Linked DNA regions of Homo sapiens: regions 1, 3, 4 and 5 are each linked to region 2. Evidence: promoter capture Hi-C in 16 types of primary human blood cells and fetal thymus (Javierre and others, 2016). All regions are on one chromosome and are shown on one strand. Each heading gives the region's core, a stretch centred on a gene start or on the middle of the fragment in contact. The rest is flanking DNA. Distances are from core to core; before and after follow the strand shown.

The links. Contacts are between HindIII fragments. The CHiCAGO score rates a contact against its expected background, and 5 or more counts as called.
Region 1: a contact is called between a fragment that was not itself captured here and the fragment with the promoter of ERC1 in region 2, in 1 of 17 cell types (activated CD4 T cells). The highest score is 5.2, in activated CD4 T cells.
Region 3: a contact is called between a fragment that was not itself captured here and the fragment with the promoter of ERC1 in region 2, in 2 of 17 cell types (activated CD4 T cells and naive CD4 T cells). The highest score is 6.1, in activated CD4 T cells.
Region 4: a fragment that was not itself captured here is called in contact with the fragment with the promoter of ERC1 in region 2 in 17 of 17 cell types (endothelial precursors, fetal thymus, megakaryocytes and 14 more); the score reaches 14.9 in endothelial precursors.
Region 5: a fragment that was not itself captured here is called in contact with the fragment with the promoter of ERC1 in region 2 in 1 of 17 cell types (endothelial precursors); the score reaches 5.6 in endothelial precursors.

What each region holds. Positions count from the first base shown.
Region 1 is chr12:394,666-398,657 of GRCh38, forward strand. The region is part of intron 2 of LOC105369594 (a long non-coding RNA gene); the gene reads right to left. It also overlaps a transcript of CCDC77 not described here. Among named protein-coding and RNA genes, the nearest start is that of CCDC77, 5.0 kb to the right of the region's middle. The HindIII fragment of the contact is 9,606 bases long and covers 1-3,992 here.
Region 2 is chr12:989,916-993,597 of GRCh38, forward strand. ERC1 (ELKS/RAB6-interacting/CAST family member 1) reads left to right here and starts at 1,308. Exons shown (of 19, transcript NM_178040.4): 1 at 1,308-1,407. It also overlaps a transcript of RAD52 not described here. RefSeq lists enhancers at 139-701, 1,263-1,824 and silencers at 523-572, 983-1,092, 1,113-1,622, 1,828-2,122. The HindIII fragment of the contact is 9,168 bases long and covers 1-3,682 here.
Region 3 is chr12:448,586-452,359 of GRCh38, forward strand. No RefSeq gene overlaps it. Among named protein-coding and RNA genes, the nearest start is that of B4GALNT3, 9.5 kb to the right of the region's middle. The HindIII fragment of the contact is 235 bases long and covers 1,889-2,123 here.
Region 4 is chr12:1,586,396-1,590,197 of GRCh38, forward strand. The region is part of intron 1 of FBXL14 (F-box and leucine rich repeat protein 14); the gene reads right to left. Among named protein-coding and RNA genes, the nearest start is that of FBXL14, 6.3 kb to the right of the region's middle. RefSeq lists an enhancer at 1,447-2,106. The HindIII fragment of the contact is 1,540 bases long and covers 1,039-2,578 here.
Region 5 is chr12:1,569,418-1,573,069 of GRCh38, forward strand. The region is part of intron 1 of FBXL14 (F-box and leucine rich repeat protein 14); the gene reads right to left. Among named protein-coding and RNA genes, the nearest start is that of FBXL14, 23 kb to the right of the region's middle. The HindIII fragment of the contact is 3,380 bases long and covers 555-3,652 here.

The DNA.
Region 1 (3,992 bases), core at 557-3,056, 590 kb before region 2:
AAAAATTATCTATTTGATGTTGTGTGATTGCGAGAGAGTGATGAATTGGAGAATGACTCTTTGGCATTGTAATGAATGATGATGCATTAATTTAGATATAGAATGGAAGAAAAGCAATCTAATGGGGGGAGGCAGCACACCTGTAGGGAGGAGGATTATACATGCATTCAACATTTATTCCACATCTCTATGTGCCAGGCACTCTTCCAGATGCTGGATATATGACAGTGAACAACAAAAAAAGACAAAGTATCGGCTCTCATACAGCTCACTAGTAGAAAGGGAAGACAAAAGAATAAGCACAAGCTAATAAATATATACTATTTTAGTGATGATAAGATTTTTTTAAAGTGGAGAAAGTAAGGGGGCTTGGGTGATCATCAAAGGGCTCACAGATTGGTGACATTTGTTTTTTGTTCTTAGTTTTCTGAGGCACGGTTTCATTCTGTCTCACTTAGGTTGGAGTGCAATGGCATTATCTTGGCTCACTGTAACCTCAAACTTCTGGGCTGAAGCGATCCTCCTCCCTCAGCCTCCTGAGTAGCTAGGACTACAGGTGTGTGCCACCACGTCTGGGTAATTTTGTTTTATTTTTCTATTTTCTATAGAGAGAGGGTCTGGCTGTATTTCCCAGGTTGGTTTCAAACTACTAAGCTCAAGCAATCCTATTGCCTTGGCCTCCCGAAGTGCTGGAATTACAGGCATGAGCCACTGCACCCAGCCAGATTGGTGACATTTGAATAGAGGCTACTTTATAAAAATAAAAGGACAAATTGCTAAATGAATATCCAATCAGGAGGGATTACAGCTAGCCTTCCATATATGTGGGTTCCTCATTTAGAGAGTCCGTATCTACGAACCCAACCAACTACAGAAAATATTTGGAAAAAAAAACAATAAAAATAATAATAAATAATAAAAATAATACAGATTAAAAAACAGTACAGGCCGAGTGTGCTGGCTCACGCCTGTAATCCCAGAACTCTGGGAGGCCGAGGTGGGTAGATTGCTTGAGGTCAGGAGTTCGACACCAGAGTGGCCAACATGGCGAAGCCCCATCTCTACTAAAAATACAAAAATTGGCTGGGCGTCGTGGTGCATGCCTGTAGTCCCAGCCACTTGGGAGGCTAAGGCAAGAGAATCGCTTGAACTCAGAAGGCAGAGGTTGCAGTGGGCTGAGATCACACTACTGCACTCCAGCCTGGGCGACAGAGTGAGACTCTGTCTCAAAATAAATAAATAAATAAAAAATATAAAACAATACAGTAAATCAAGTGCAGTGGCATGCATCTGTAATCCCAGCTATTCAGGAGGTTGAGTCAGGAGGATTGCTTGAGCCCAGGGGTTTGAGTCCAGTCTGAGCAACACAGCAAGACCTTGTCTCTAAAAAATAAAAAATAAAAGAAAATAAATACATTTTGAAATTTAAAAAAGTCAATACACTGGCCAGGCGAGGTGGCTCACGCCTATAATCCCAGCACTTTGGGAGGCCAAGGCGGGCAGATCACCTGAGGTCAGGAGTTCGAGACCAGCCTGGCCAACATGGTGAAACCCCATCTCTACTAAAAATACAAAAATTAGCCAGGTGTGGTGGTGGGTGCCTGTAATCCCAGCTACTTGGGAGGCTGAGCCCAGAGAATCGCTTGAACCTGGGAGGCGGAGGTGGCAGTGAGCTGAGATTATGCCACTGCACTCCAGCCTGCGGGACAGAGCAAGACTCCCTCTTGAAAAAATAAATAAATAAAAAAGGAAAAGGAAGAAAAACAACTGTTTAAATTGTATTAGGTATTATAAGTAATCTATAGATGTTTTGAAGTATACGGGAGGGTGTGCATAGGTCATATGCAAATAATATGCCATTTATGTAAGGGACTTGAGCATCTATGCCTTTTGGTACCCAGGAATTGCCTGGCACCAATCCCTAGCAGATACTGAGCAAGGGACAACTGTATTTCCAATTAGGGAGATAAGTCAAGATTTTACAAAAGTGGTAGTATTTGAGTTGGCTCTCGTAAGAATTTTGAGTGAAGATGCACTGAAAGGGCCAATCCAGATAAAAGGAAGAGTGTGAACTGAAGCTGGAAAGTGCGTCCTGTGTTCAGGAGATGACCACATCAATTTCTTCTAATAGAGACAAATGGGGTCAGATAGCTGCAGTCTTTGAATGCCATACTACTGTCTGAACTTCATTCTCTAGTCTGTGGGGAGTCATCAAAGTTTATAAGCAGGAGTGTGACAGACCCGGAATTGAATTTTTTGGAGACAGAGTCTCGCTCTGTCACCCAGGCTGGAGTGCAACAGCGTGATCTCAGCTCACTGCAACCTCCACTTCCTGAGTTCAAGCAATTCGCCTGCCTCAGCCTCCTGAGTAGCTGGGATTACAGGCATGTGCCACATGTAACCACACCCAGCTAATTTTTGTATTTTTACTAGAGATGGGGCTCATGCCTGTAATCCCACCACTTTGGGAGGCTGAGGCGGGTGGATCACGAGGTCAGGAGTTCAAGACCAGCCTGGACAAAAATCACCTTTTATAGAATGGATTGGAGGCAAGAACACCCAGTTAGAAGCCTATGGTAATAGACCAAGTGAAAGGTAATAAGACACATAGTGGAAATAAATAGGAAGATATATATGAAGACAGGCTCACCATGACTTGATTTTTTAAAAATTGCAGGGGCTAAAAGAAAGGAAATAGACAAAAGATACCGAGCCGAGATGTTTGGGAAGATATTAATGTAATTAACAGAGAAAATCACAAGGGAGAAAAAAGCAGGTTTGGGAGTACAGGCATAACTTGGAGATATTGCAGGTTCAGTTCCAGACCACCATAATAAAGTGAATATCACCATAAAGCAAATTGCTCGAAATTTTCGGTTTCCTGGTACATAAAAAAAGCTATGTGTTTACACGATACTGTAGTCTAGTGCATTATTTCTAGTTTGCATTATTTCTTTAAAAAAATTTACATGCCTTAATTTAAAATGCTTTTTTTTTTTGAGACAGAGTCTTGCTCTGTCACCCAGGCTGGAGTGCAGTGGCGCGATCTCAGCTCACTGCAGCCTCTGCCTCCTGGGTTCAAGTGATTCTCCTGCCTCAGCCTCCCGAGCAGCTGGGACTACAGGCGCCCGCCACCACGCCCGGCTAATTTTTTGTATTTTTAGTAGAGATGGGGTTTCACTGTCTTAGCCAGGATGGTCTCCATCTCCTGACCTCGTGATCCGCCCGTCTCAGCCTCCTGCAGTGCTGGGATTACAGGCGTGAGCCACCGCGACTGGCCTTAAAATACTTTATTCTAAAAATGCTAATGATCGTCTAAGCCAAGTCATAATATTTTCACTGATGGAGGGTCTAGCCTTGATGTTGGGGGCTGCTGACTGATCATGGTGCTGATTGCTAAAGGCTGGGGTGGCTGTGGCAATTTCTTAAAATAAGACAACAATGAAGTTGTTTTCATTCTTCCTTTCATGATATTGATTGATTCTTCCTTTCATGAAAGATTTCTCTGTAGCATGCAATGCTGTTTGATAGCATTTTACCCATAGTAGAACTTCTTTCAAAGTTGAAGTCAATCCTCAAACCCTGCAACTGCTTTATCGACTAAGTTTATGGAATATTCTAAACCCTTTGTTGTCATTTTGGCAATGTTCACAGCATCTTCACCAGGAGTAGATTCCAGCTAAAGAAACCACTTTCTTTACTTATTCATAAGAAGCAACTCTTCATCCATAGTTTCATCATGAGATTGCAGCAATTCAGTCACATCTTCAGGTTCCACTTTTTTTTTTTTTTGAGACAGAATCTTGCTCTGTTGCCCAGGCTGGACTGCAGTGGCGCGATCTGGGCTCACTGCAACCTCTGCCTCCCGGGTTCAAGCGATTCTCCTGCCTCAGCCTCCCAAGGCTCCACTTCTAATTCTAGTTCTCTTGCTACTTCCACAGCATCTGCAGTTATTTCGTCCATGAAGTCTTGAACCCCCTCAAAGACATCCA
Region 2 (3,682 bases), core at 58-2,557:
CCAAGAAATGAAAGGCTGGTCTGGCAGCAGCACATCGTCTAACAGTTGGTAGTCATATGTGGGAAGTACTGAAGGGGGAGATGACAGCAGGCCCAGAAACTGCAATGATCCAAGTGCATGTCGATCCTGGGAGGGAACAGTTAAGAGTCCGGGCAGGATGAAACAGTAGAAACTGGTGAGTGAATGAATGTGAAGGCTGAGGAGCGACTGCAATTTGTTAATGGGATTATGAGGCAGTATAAAGTGGTTAATTACGGTGGCGGAGGTAAGCAGGAGTAAAATGATGGCTTTTAACTCCTCTCAAGGACACCGAAAATTATTTTAATAAACACTGGAAGGCTGGGAATAAATATAATTCACACCATTCTTACTTTCTTGGTTTAGAGATAGCTTATCTACATCCTTAAATTAATGGCTGTAGCTACCCTCTGCATGGCTCCAAAAAAAAAACAAAAAACAAAAAACAAAACCAAAGCCGGCTGCGAGTCTGCACGAGAAAATCGGGTTGCACCAGGCCCCAGCCGCCCGCCGATTCGCTTAGCTGTCGGAGGCTAAATAAACAGCTCCCGAAGCAGCGTTTGGCACAGCGCAGGGTCGGAACGTGGACACTAATTTCCGCCCACGCTCCCCGCGTCCTGGCGGGATCACCACAGACACGACGTCCATTGCTGGGGTCCTCGGCGATGCCCGTGTGCGCAGCCCCGCGAGTCTCAGGTCAGAAGACCACTAATTTCGCGGCCGCGTTCCACGAAGCTAAGGGGCAAAAAACCAGCTTTCTTGGGACAAAGCGTCCCCCCAGCAGCCAGGGTCGATCCCGGCGCTGCTCCCGCGGCGCTTGGCTGCCCCGGGCGTAACGGGCCACGAGAAGTAGGGGGTGGGGCGCCGCTTAGGTTTGGGAAGACACGAAGCGGCTCCTCGGGCTTCCAGCGTCCACTTCCTACGGCAAGCAGGAGGAGACAAGCGCCACCCTGCGCTCGCGGAGCCGACCCCGGCTCTCCCCTCCCGTGGCCGCAGGGGTCGTGTGTGTGTGTGTGTGAGTGTGTGTGTGTGTGCAGGGACGCTCCGCGCCCATCACTCTGTTTCGGTGCTAATCGACCGCCGTGGCGCCGATTTCCCCCGCTTCCCAGTTCCTCACCCGCGTGCCCCGGAAGGCGCCCGGAGGCCCCCGGGCCGCCGCGTCACGCTCCCGGGAGGCTGAGGGAAAGGGAGGCAGCCGAGCCGGGAGCCCGGGGAGGCGCGCTGCGCCCCGCGGCGGGGCTGGGGGCGGGGCTAGGTGTCTCGCGCAGGGGGCGGGGCGCGGTGACGTCGCGGGCGCCTGGGCCGTGCTGTGGCGGCGGCGGCGGCGGTAGTGGCGGCGGCGGCGGTGCCTGGGCGGCAGCAGCAGCAGTAGCGGCAGCCCTGAGGACGGTGAGACGGCCGCGGCGGCGGCGACAGCGCGGAAGTCGCGCGGGACCCAGAGCTTCCCCCCTGTCGCTAGTGCTGAGGCTTTCGCCTTTCCTACCCAGCTTCTTGCTCACGGCCCGGGCTGGGCTGGGCAGGGCAACGCGCCCCCGGGGAGGGGCGGAGCTGTAGGTGAGGCTTCGCGACCCCCTCCCCCTCCTCGGCAGCCCGGGGGGTGGGGAGGGGCGGGCCCCACCCAGACCACCGGCGCCCACCCGCGGGCTCCACCCAGCCGGGCTCCGGGATCGGGCGGGAGCCGAGGCGGTAGATGTGGGGATCCTGGGGCGGGAGGTGGGGGAGTGGGGACTGGGGCTCTGGGCACTTGGGGAGCGGAGGGGGGGAGGCTTAGGACTAGTGAAGCCGCGGACGAGGTAGTGGGGAGACGGAGAAATTGGGGAGCCATGAGGTTGGGGTGCGGTCAGGGTGGATCTTTGGGTTAGGTGAGTGATGTAAAATGCTGAAGATGATTCTTTTCTTTTCGATGAAATGGTGAGATAAAAGATGAAGTGTATTTCAAAAGGACGATGAGCTGTGCATGTTGCCTTTGAGGCAGTTGCAGAACCTATTTTATTGCACTAGATCTCACGTTTCTACTTTAGGGTTCGATTCTTTTTCTTCTGGCGGGGTGGGTGGGGGGTCGGAGAGGGAAGAGAATCCCCTTACTTTGGCTCAGGTAAATTGTGAGCGTGGATGTATCTGAAAGTTTTACACCGAAGAAGAGGGAGATCTTCGGTTTAGACAACTTCGTTCCGGCAGCCACCATTTGGGTCGCATTACGCTTAGCTCCTTCAAGGTGGTGTCTTCCAGTTTTTTTTCCCCCCAATGCCTAAAAGATCTCTTTATACCACCCTTTTACAGGCTTTATCCTGGCCCCTTGAGAGAAGGCCCCAAACTCAGGTGGTTGCTTTGGAAGGCACATTGCTGAATAATAGTTGCAGGTGGTTGTGGTTGACTGCTTTGGGTGGATAAAGTGAACAATTGGAATAGTTCTGTTGGAGCTAATTATATGAAAAATGCTTAAATGTTTTAAAGTACAACCGTCTTTTATAGCGTGTTGCTTGCTCAGTACACCTTGACTTTTAGACATTTTGTGTTCAGTGCTAAATTGTTGAAATTTTATTTCTCATTTGCAGTTATGTTTCTTGCAGTCTTTATTAAAACACTTTAAAATGAAATGGAACTCTTTTTTTTTGGTAGGCTCCTCAATTTCTGAGAAATGTTCTTGGAGTCAAGTGCTTTAAAAACATTTTGGGGGCAGGTGTGTCACTTTGTATGGAAATATTAGAGTAAGCAGTGTTCAATGTTCTTCACATCACTCTTTCACAACTTAGCACTGTAAATCAGAATCTTCTTTTCTGGATTCTTGCTCCCTGTTAGATTACAGTATTCTCTGGCCCTACTTATCAGTTAGTGTCATTTAAGCTATTTCTTGTTCAGAAAACAGGTCCCATGATGGACATGTATTATGTAATGGATGGAAGTAGACATGGCTCTCAATAATTCATTTATGGAGGAAGAGAAGCTGTCAGAAAGTGGGATTTAAGCAGTGACTTTCCCAAGGCTTGCCTAGTTTATTTGGGAAAATAGCCAGAGAAGTGCTTTCTTGTAACCCAAAAGAGAAATATACAGATAAGAATTTCAGTAGTTGCAGATCGTTGCTTTTTCTAAGTGCCTACTTAATGAGCAGATTATTGTCTTCCAGCAAATACTTCTACTTTATAGAGAGGTATGGGAAACAGGACATAATAGGTATTAAGTGAGAAAGTGTGTGTTCCAATTTTTAATTATAAATAAAAGATTTAATTAACTGTATTCAGTTAATTCATTTGGTAAAGTGAACAGTTTTGACTTTGGATTAGTTAGAAGGAAAACAAAATTGACATATCTAGTTTTCGCTTTTAAATTATACATAGACTTAATTAATTGGGACAAATGTGAACTAAGATACTGGGTAAAACTTGTGTGTACTCCTAAAATGACATTTGCATGGCTGGTAGTAAGCTGTGATTCTTGTCCTTGTAGGAATGAAATCACATAATTTGGGGAAAGTCTTAAGGTAAAAGTAAGCTATTTCGTTTAGCATTTCTTGTGCCTGAAATTATGCCTACATTTTATTTTTCAAAAAATGTTGCTTGCTAGTCATTACTTGTGATATCCTTGTTGAGTCTACTGAGGTGTTTTTTTTCCTTCATTACCTGTGTCATAGATAAGTATGCCAGTCTGTTAATTCAACATTAATACT
Region 3 (3,774 bases), core at 756-3,255, 540 kb before region 2:
TGAGGGATGAGGCCAGAAGGAAAATGGGAAATAGCTTCAAAGTTGATAAAGCCAAGGAGAGGAGTTTCGATAGTTTTAGGCTGGGGAAGACTTAACCATATTCACAGACTGAAAGGGAAAGGCCAGAGGAAGGAACTGAAGATGGAAGAGTGAGAGGTGTTTCTAAGTAAGATGCTGGGGGAATGAGCGCTGGTACTGACGGGTGCAGTAAAAGCAGATGAGTTGGTATAATAACTCTAAAGGGGCAAGTACCCTGTTTTCACAGAGGAAATAAAGTTAAACCCTCCACTGAAAGTGAGATAGGGTATAGATGTGATGGGGAGCTTGAGGAGAAAGTGAATGTTGGAAAGATTGGAGGGAGCTGACAAGAGACAAGTGATAGACTCATTAGGAGTAGCTCTTGATGGACGATTTATTGAGTTGAACTGCCTGCCAGGGAGAAAATGCCTAGAATCGCAGCAAGTCATAGTCTGCTTCATCTGCCCTTCTAACTTCCTAAGTAGGTAAGGGCACAGAGCCAAAAAAGATCTAGAATAGGCAGACCAGCAGAAAAAAAGGCAGGTGAAGAGATAGAGCTGGAAGGAGGGTTTGGCTGCAAAGTGAAGGGAGGCCTTGCAAAGAAAACATTTTGAAAGGGGGCTTTAAATCTCTACGTGAAAACATTGCTTTATCGGCTTAAGCTGTGAAATATTCCACTCCTGGACTACTTGGTAGCTTATTTTCAAGTTAGCCATACAAAAAGCAACTGTGAACACAACCTAGACTTCTGGAGATTAATTACTTAATTGCCTCACATTTATGATGACATCACAGTGCACCCGTGTTCTTGTGTGTAGGAAATCCCTCATTTTGGAGATGATGCCCTTCTTGGGGGAAACTACTAGATGAGAATATTCACATCGTAAGTGAATGCAGGTGCCTATGTGGGAGACTGTGGATCAGATTGTCACTGAGAAACCACCATCCTTGCCAGAACAGCCTTCTGGGAGCTCAACCTCCAAGTGGCAGCTATGATTTCTTTTGTTTGCAGATATTAGCTCTCTTTCTCTTTGCCTCTTCAGCTGCATGACCTCTTTTTTTCAAACTGAGCCAGCCAGTCTATTTTTTAAAAAATTAAGACTGGCACAGTGGCTTACGCCTGTAATTCCAGCATTTTGGGAGGTCACGGCAGGAGGATCATTTGAGGCCAGGAGTTTGAGACCAGCCTAGGAACATAGTGGGACTCCATCTCTACAAAACATAGAAAAAATTAGCTGGGTGTGGTGGTGCACGCCTATAGCCCCAGCTACTTGGGAGGCTGAGGCTGGGGGATCGCTTGAGCCCAGGAGGTCGAGGCTACAGTGAGCTATGATCAGGCTACTGCACTCTAGCCAGGGCTACAGAGTGAAACCCCATCTCTAAAAAAATAAAAAATAAAATATACAAATAATAAATAAATTGTGTTGTGTTGACACATGAACAGAATAGACTCATATCTACATATATGTCATATATGTATGTCATTATAATAGATGCATCTTGAGTTGCTGCCAAATATGGTTTTTTTTCAGTTTGGACAAATATTTATTCTCCTCGATGATTCAGCTCATCTTTCTATTTTTTAGATAATTGTACATTCGCATGCAGTTCTAAGAAATAATACAGTGATTTTATGCACATTTTGCCCAGTTTATCTCCAATCATTGACTCACTGCTTTTTGACTAGTCTGCAGCTAGTGAGTCCTGGTAATTCTGGATTGGACCACAATGTTTGTGATTAGCCTTGTGTTGACTTGTGACATTTTCCTTCCCTTTTGGCTCACAACAGCATTTAACAACAGCAGTGCGATTTTAAATGAACAATTTCAATATTGCTTGTGTTGACTCTTCCAGAGCCTCTTAATTGGCAAGCTTGCCTTGGCATTTGGGAAGGATAATTAAATATTAAGTAGAGGGATCCCAAATAGGAATGAGCCTAAGTAGTATTGTCATGCACATTTTGGTGAGATTTCATTTGGCCCAAAGCTCAGTAATCAGTGCAGATTGAACTGGTGTGCCTGGGTTTTTCTTTTTACTTAGAGAGGCGGTTCCTTACCCTAGCCTTATCTCTTGTGTCACTCCCTAGGCTGGGCCAGCACCTGATAAGCTTCTGTGGAAAATAGCTGTGTTCTCGGTGTGCAAACAGGTTCTCTTGCTTGTTTCTGTCAAAGCAATGAACTCCTTCCCCCCAAAAAATGACCTTAGGAAACTCTTCTTTCTCTACGTATTCTCTGCTCATTTCCTGAAGCCTGACTACTTTGTCCTCATCTTTGAGATTCAGTATTTCTTCCCCCCACCACTTTTATTTCTTTATTTATTTTAAAATTTTACATAGAGATGGAGTCTCACTATATTGACCAGGCTGGTCTCAAACTCTTGGCCTCAAGTGATTTTCCTGCTTCAGCCTCCCAAAGTGCCAGGATTACAGGTGTGAGGCATGGCACCAGGCTAGATTCTATATTTCACCTTGAGTCAGTCGGACTAAGCCGCCCTCTAACTCCCCTCACCCCTCTCCTATCGGGGTGCTTCCCACCCAGTCTCCTGCCCTTGCCTCCTAAGCGCTGATCATGAGCCTGCTGCCTGCCCACGCATGCACTGGCACTGCCTCTGGCTCTCCCTGCTTCCTAGGTCTCTGTCCTAGTCTGACTTCTGCACCTGGTGCACTTGCCTGCTCCTGGTCACTGATTCTGCTTCTGCTTGTCCCACCAGTGTTAGTGTTTCCAGGAGTTCTGACTCGGGCTCTCTTCACAAGACACCCACATCCTCTCCTGAGGTGTTGGCATTCCTCTCTGTGATGCCACCTATGACTCTCCCCTATGGTGAGAATGCTGGGGGTTTCCTTTTCTACAGGTCTTTAAAGGCTGCAGAAATCTCCCTCGAGAATACTATGGCATTTAAGGGAAAACCTTCCTGAAAGCAATGTATTCAGCCTAGAAAGCTGAGATAACACGGTGATCTGAAAATGTGGAGCAAAGGACATCTGACCTAGATTAAAAAAATAATTCAGAGACTGATGTGAAGTCTCTGAGGTCACTTTGTAAATTCACTGAAGGAAAATTCAGAGTGTGAAATGTCTCCTATAAACACCTGGATAACACATGGGATAACACAATGCAAGGCTTTACCATGCACATCTCCCACTGGCCTGCTCTGACAGCCCCCTTTTGAGGGTAAGATGCCTGGCTGAAGAGCAGAATCCTCATAAAGGCAGAAGAATATTTGTTATGTATTTAATTTTAGATATAGGGTCTCACTCCGTCACCCAGGCTAGAATGCAGTGCAGATCACTGCTCATTGCAGACTCCACCTTCTGGGCTCAAGCAGTCATCCCATCTCAGCCTCCTAAAGTGTTGGGATTACAGGCATAAGCTCAGTGCCCTGGAGCTTCTAAAAGATTCTTCTGCCTTGGTGGGGTGCAGTGGCTCATGCCTGTAATCCTAGCACTTTGGGAAGCTGATGTGGGAGAATTGCTTGAGCCCAGGAGTTTGAAACCAGCTTGGGCAACATAGCCCATCTCAACAAAAAATTAAAGTTAAAAAATTTAGCCAAGGGCTGGGCACGGTGTCTCACATCTATAATTCCAGCACTTTGGGAGGTGGGCAGATCACTTGAGGCCAGAAGTTTGAGACCAACCTGGCCAACATGGCGAAACCCCGTTTCTACTAAAAATACAAAAATTAGCCAGGTGTGGTGACGCACACCTGTAGTCCCAGCTACTCGGGAGGCTGAGGCACGAGAATTGCTTGAACCCGGAAG
Region 4 (3,802 bases), core at 559-3,058, 600 kb after region 2:
GGGGTTTTGCTGTGTCGCCCAGGCTGGTCTTGAACTCGTGTGTTCAAGTGATCCTCCCACCTCAGCCGAGTGAGTAGCTGGGACTACAGATGTGTGCCGTGCCTGGCTTGGTGCCACACATCTCTGAAGAGAGACAGGGTGGTGCTTTGCAGTGCCCCTGTGAGCCGCCTCCATGCTGGTCACCTTCTGCATTGGTCATTAAGTCTAGAGCAGCCCAGGTTCTGACACTAGGTTCTCCTCTAATTACCTAGGCAAAATCTTTTCCACTTTGTTAAGCATCTTTTCCCATTTATAAAATTAAATGTACCACATCTGCCAGATTTGGGAAAACAAAAATGTTGAGACAGAGAAACCGAACATTGTGTTATGACTGAGTTCTTCCACAGATCACACTCACATTCCTGACCTGGTCTCACTTGGGTTTCTCTGCTGCGCCACGGCTGCAGACCCAGTTCTCTTCTTTGTAATTGAGACTCATTTGTTTCCACTATCACAAATGCAAGTATCCTTGTAAGTTTTTTATAAGGATATAAAGCATTTGTTCCTTAAACAACTAAAGTGGCCGGGCGCGGTGGCTCATGCCTGTAATCCCAGCACTTTGGGAGGCCGAGGCGGGCGGATCACTTGAGGTCGGGAGTTTGAGACCAGCCTGACCAACATGGAGAAACCCCGTCTCTACCAAAGATACAAAATTAGCCGGGCGTGGTGGCACACGCCTGTAATCCCAGCTACTCAGGAGACTGGGGCAGGAGAATCACTTGAACCTGGGAGGCGGAGGTTGCAGGGAGCCAAGATCGTGCCATTGCACTGCAGCCTGGACAACAAGAGTGAAACTCCGTCTCCGTCTCAAAAAAAAAAAAAAAAAAAAATTGAAGTAGAAGAGTAATGAAATAATAGAAACTTAAGTCTTCTTTTTAAAGAAAATATGTGCACTTTTCTGGGTTAATAAATAGCAGGCAGAGGAATTCCACTTCGATTGTTTTATTGGGAGTGGGGGTTTAACATACCCCACTCTGGTGCTGCTCAGTTAAGATCTCAAGCTTACTTTCTTTTGCACCTCAACTGGAGGGCTTGGCTTTACATACGACCAAATATTCTGGGTTGGTAAAGGCAACTCCAGCAGGCAAAATCAGAGCAATCCCTGGAAAAGAGGAAAAAACTGAAACTGATCATTTGTGGACATTTAAATTTACCAATTGTCTAGAAATTCCATACAAGAGCTGAGATATATGCTCTTGTTCCAACTGTGCACTTACCTTTGATACTTCATTAAGTAAATTATTAATATTTGGCACTGATCTAAATATGCATGTCCCATCTGTTTTACAACTTTTTAAAAAATTTAACTTGCTGCCTGATAGTTAACCAAGTGCATTGACAGAAATGAGGTAAGTATGTGACCCAAGTCTGAGCTTAGGTTTGAATGCAGCTTTCTAATTTCTAATGCTGTGCTTTACTCATGATCCACATTATTTCATCAAAAAGCCTCACCCCTCTGACTCCTCAGGGGTTCATAATGGCACAAAATTTAGGTCTTGCCCTCTACTAAAGGGATGGAATTAACTTTTAAAAGGGGTGATGTTTGATGCAGGGAAGAGAAAGAGAACAGAGAGAGGGGACCACTAGATGACTTACTATAGTCCCTCCCTTTCTACCGCAGAACACAGCAGAGATCAGAGGCCAGGGCTTTCCCTTTCATAGAACTGGGAAGAGACAGTTGTCAGAAGCTGCATGAGGTCTTGGTTTTGTTTTACAAATCTGATCTTTTAATCAAGAGGTTCTTATTCTTTAGAAACACAGTGGTCCCTGGGGGCCACTACCCTTTCCCTTTGAAAACTTGAATTCGAATTCTCTAAGTCAAAAGTGAAAGGTTTTGTTTGTATTCTAAGACCAGCACCTATCTAGTAACCACTTCAGGAAAGCAGCAGGATTTGGGAGCTAGGCCATGCTTTAATTTACATATCATATGTCCTTATGTAAGAGAAAGTTCATACCTTTCAAAAGAAAAAGGAACGTTTGCTTTTTTACATCTTTGTTGTTCATCTGACTCATGAAAGAACATGATCGGTTCGAGTTTATTTTTAGGATATACTGGTACTGGCTTTTAGTTTTAGTAAATGTTAAGTTGGACAAGTTAGGGGCCTAGCTTGGGAGCTGCAGAAATTGGCTGAGCCCCACAGGTGATTTATAGATAATCTTTCCAGTAAGAACATTGAAGGGCTACACACAATGACACTTAGAAAAAGAAGGGAAATGAAGCTGTTCCTTGACTACTACCCAGTTTCTGTTGAGGTTTATTACTTCTAGATGATAAGGTTTACACGAAGTTTACATTATGTTTTTTCAGTTCTCAAGTTTCAGCAAATACCTGAACCAAGTTTTTTTCTGTTATTCTAAGAACTGCCCTGGAGTGCCTTTTAACTTTTGTACCACCACGCAAAGTGTACTATCAATTCATGTCCTTTAGCTCTTCTATTCTTCAATGCATTTCTCCCATTCCTGTAGGTATGGCGGGGATCAACTTTTCATACCACCAAGAGTCACCCCTATTCCCTTTGAAGTACTGCCCTATGGCATAAGCTTGTTCATACGGTGTTCAAACAGCTACCGTTCACTTCTATGAGGGTCACCTTACTGGAAACCAAGGTATGACGAGTAACTAAATCTTCTCATCAAGCAGAAGGGAGCTGGACTTTAGAAATGGAGCCTGGGCCACGCAGAGTGGCTCACGCCTGTAATCCCAGGACTTTGGGAGGCCGAGGTGGGCAGATCGCTTGAGCCCAGGAGTTTGAGACCAGCCTGGGCAACATGGTGAAACCCTGTTTCTACAAAAAAAATACAAAAAAAAAAAAAAATAGCCAGCCATGGTGGTGTGCGCCTGTAGTCTCAGCTACTCAGGAGGCTAGGTGGGAGGATCACTTGAACCTGGGAAGTCAAGGCTGCAGTGGGTTGTGATTGTACCACTGCACTCCTGCCTAGGCAACAGATCAAGACCTTGTCTCAAAAAAAAAAAAAAAAAAAAAAGATCAAGACCTTGTCTCAAAAAAAAAAAAAAAAAAAGACAGGAAGGCAGGAAGACAGGAAGGAAGGGAGGGAGGGAGGGAGGGAAATGGAGAAATGGAGCCTAGGTTTGAATCCTGGCTCCCTCACTTACTGGTTGGGTAACTTACGGCAGGAATTATGACTTATCTGGAAAACAGGGATAATACCTGTTTCAGCAGGTTGCTTTGAAGATTAAAACTTACAAGTACCTTGTAAAACACACATAGGTTCTCAACACGTTAATTGCTTTCCATCCAAAAAGGTTGAGAGATGAGCAGTTGACCTTCACTAACCACTCTAGGTGGTTTATCATCTTTCCCAGAGAAGCTCCGGCTATATACTAAGTATGCCTCATTCAGGATAAGGATATAGCTAGACCCATGGTCGTAACTTTCAAACATCAATTTGCCGACCTTTAGTCAAGCGTATATTTAACATTTAACGTAAAAAGGAGACAAAACAGAAGAACGTGCTTCACGTTACAGGTGGTAGGAATATTTTGCCTATTAAAATGAAGAATGTGAATACAGAGCCTAAGACTTGGGTGCTCAAATTTTTATCAATTGAATCTGTACAGCCATGCAGTCTCTTGGAAGAAAAACAGACTAAGAACCCACTGCCGTGTAACCTTCAGGAGTTGTGTCAAATGCTGGATTAGAAAGCTGACCCTAATTCAGAGTCCCTACTTCTTAATAGGCTTCACACTTTTTTTTTTTTCCAGGCATTAAGCACTGTAACCTAAGTGGGAAGAAAGAGATCC
Region 5 (3,652 bases), core at 995-3,494, 580 kb after region 2:
TGAGACGGAGTCTCGCTCTGTCACCCAGGCTAGAGTGCAGTGCCGCAATCTCGGCTCACTGCAAGCTCCGCTTCCCGGGTTCACGCCATTCTCCTGCCTCAGCCTCCTGAGTAGCTGGGATTACAGGCGCCCGCCACCACGCCCGGCTAATTTTTTGTGTTTTTAGTAGAGATGGGGTTTCACCGTGTTAGCCAGGATGGTCTCGATCTCCTGAACTTGTGATCCGCCCGCCTCGGCCTCCCAGAGTGCTGGGATTACAGGCGTGAGCCACCGCTCCCGGCACCACTTGGTTCTTTATGGCTGTTGAGCATAGCTCATCCTCGAAGTTTGTTTAATGCTCATTTTATGCTGTCCCACAGAAAAGACTATTGCCAAAGAGCAGAGCCACTTTTGTTGAAGGCTGTGCCACTCACCCAGAGTCCCCTGTGCAAAGGAAGGGAGGCTCACACAGAGCCAAGGGAGGGCAGGGCGCACCACATGCCCACTGCAGAGCCAGCATCCCCCTCGAGAGCTGCACTTCTGCCCTCAGGCCCACTGAGCTCCTTCTGCAAGGAAGCTTTTCAGACAAGAAGGAGGCTTTTATGAGGTTCAGATTCTTCCTAAGAGAACGTTTTGCTGTTGTTGCATGGAAGAGGGGTTTTTCCCCTCTGGTCGAAACTCCGCCCAGCTTTGTCTAGTGCGGTGTCCTGTCCACACTAGACCTGTTGTCCTAGTTTGTGTTCCTCCAGAAGCCCACCCTGAAGCAGTGACTCAAAGGCCAGTAGATTACTTGTGACATGAGGAGCTACTGATCAGAGAGTGGGAAAGTGAGACAAGGAAGGGAAGACAGCCAATCAAGAGTGGGTTATCACACCGGTGATGGACGTGGCCACTGGGGCCAAACCTGCTGGGGAAGTCAGCCGGGGTACAACATGTGTCCTTATACAACGGCTCCTGCCTGTCCCTGGTTGAGGGCTGTCACAGGGAGCACTCATCTCTGGCATCTCCTTCCTACCGGGGTGGGCAAGAGGGCTCCGCAAAAAAAGTGCAGGAGCTGGTGGTCAGAAGGTGGGGTCTCGTGCCTGAAGGGTGAAGGTGGGAAATGTGGGTGGGCATGGCTGTGTGCTCTGCCTGGAATACCTGCCTGCTGAGCTGACGCTGATTTCACGCCGTGGGGTTCCCTGTAGGCTCTCCTGGGTCTGATGGTGAGTAGAATGTCTAGCATTTTGTCTGGTTTTGCAAGTGAAAAAAGTGAGGCAGGGGAAGGGCAGTCAAGTTAAGGACTAAGTGAGCAAAGCAGAACGGAACCCAAGTGTCTCGATCACTTTTGCCCATCTTAGTCAGAACATACACTGAATAGTCAATGAATGAATCTTTGATGACGTGACCATCGAGACCAAGCGGTAGTAATTCTCCTCGGCCTCTCTTGATCTTTTTCCCTTTGGTGGTCCTCCCAGGTGGTGTGGTCATGATGGGAGGAGCAGTGATGGTGTAGACCAAGCTGCCTAGTGTCGCCATGTAATGCAGCTCCATCTACCCTTGTCTGCTGCTCCTCCAGATGAGCGGTTGCTGCAGGACAGTGGTAGGTTAAATAGGCCATTATTGTCCATAGTCCTTTCTCTGTGTGGCATGTGTTTATCACTAATAATCGGTCATTGCTATGACTGCCTGATTGCATGGTCCTTCAGCCACTATTTTAGAATCTTGTATATATCTTATACTTTATACATATACTCATGTATCAAAAGCATGCTATTGCATGGCAGTAGGTGTAAAACAGTTTCTTTTTTCTGGTGGGGTTTTTTTTGTTTGTTTGTTTTGTTTTTTTGAGACAGAGTTTTTGCTCTTGTTGGCCAGGCTGGAGTGCAATGGCATGATCTCAGCTCACTGCAACCTCTGCCTCCCAGGTTCAAGCGATTCTCCTGCCTCAGCCTCTCGAGTGGCTGGGATTACAGGCATGCGCCACCACACCCGGCTAATTTTGTATTTTTAGTAGAGACGGGGTTTCTCCATGTTGGTCAGGCTGGTCTCGAACTCCTGACCTCAGGTGATCCGCCTGCCTCAGCCTCCCAAAGTGCTGGGATTACAGGAGTGAGCCACCGCGCCCAGCCAGTGTAAAACACTACTTTCTTAGTTAGCAGAGCTTAAGCAACACAGCTCATCAGTTTCATAAACAGAGATAGTGCTTTTGAAAAAGAGACTTGAAATATCCAAATCATACATGTTTTTTATTTGACTTTAAAATGATTACCTTGGGACGGGGACACAGCAGTTATCAAAGAGCGACTTTTTAACAGATGCTGGGGTTTTCCTAGATTTCTCACCAGCAAGGTTACTGCAAGATTGTCCCTATCCCATTTGAAGTCACTACTAATAGCTCAGTCTGTCTTCCTCAAGTAAGAATCAGCTAAGCCTAATGTACTGAGTGTATCAACTCCAGATCTTCCCATCTCCTTGTTCCTCAAATATTGATTGAACACCTACTCTATACCCAGCACTTTCCTGGGTGCAGGGAGTACCAGAATGAAGACAGTTCTGTGCTCTAGTCCCTGGAGACCTCACCACCCATAGCCTGTTATTTCTATGAAGTGTTAAGTTCCTTAACTACAAATTCCCACCAAGGGAATTAGGAGGCTTCACCACCAAGGATGGGGAGGGATGACTGAAACTATGAGAAACAAGAGAAGTGGCAGTCACGTTTACGTGGGGGAGTCAGGAAAGGCTTTGGGGGCAGTGAAAAAAAAAGTAGGATTTACATGCAGATAGGCAAGGATAGAGCATTTTAGGTGACAGTATGACAATCCATGCAAGCTAGTGTTGACAGAGGGAACTTTTTAAATAACTTTATGAGGTATAATTTATGTACAACAAACTGCACTCAAAGTGCACGATACGGTGTGTTTTGACAGATGCATAACCCCATGAAACCAGCACCACAGTCACAATACAGGACACTTCTTGGCTCCCAAGAGTTTCCTACTGTACGTTTGCAACTGGATGCAGGGTATGTTTTAGTGCAGATAATGTGCCCCTTTCAACACAAGAACATTTTGATTTGGCTTTTTTTGTTACCAAGTAAGATGCACCAGGCACCCTGATCTTTAGGTCTGAGTCCATATGCTAGTAGACCCAGGTCCAGGGGGCCCGCCCCATTCCCAGAGAGGCCGTGGTCTATCATTGGAGAAATCGTGACTGCAGAGGTTCAGTCCTGACGCACATACAGGTCGGGGAAGCGGGGGGGCAGTGGAGAGGAAGGCAGGGCCAGGTTATCGAGGATCCCGGACAGCGTGCAGCAGAATTTAGATTTTAACCTATTGGCAAGAAGGAGCCCACTGGAGATTGTGACCGGGAAGTGATAGAATCAGATTTGTACATTAGAAAAATCACTCCTGGGACCTGGGTCAAAATGGTCAAAATGAGAAGTGATGAGGACTGACTTAGGGCAGTGGCGGTGGAGGGGGGATGGAGAGGAAATAATGCGGTCAGAATCCAGAAGGCGGAATCAACAGAGCTGGGACAATCCTTTGGGCACAGGATGTAATAAGAGAGAGAAGAGTTATTCATAACTTCCAGGCTGATTGTGTGGTCAGCCAGGCAGTGCCTTTTATGGAGGCCGTAAATCTGGGTAGGTAGAGTGATTTAGGAGGAAATATGTTTAATTTTGGGCTCCTAT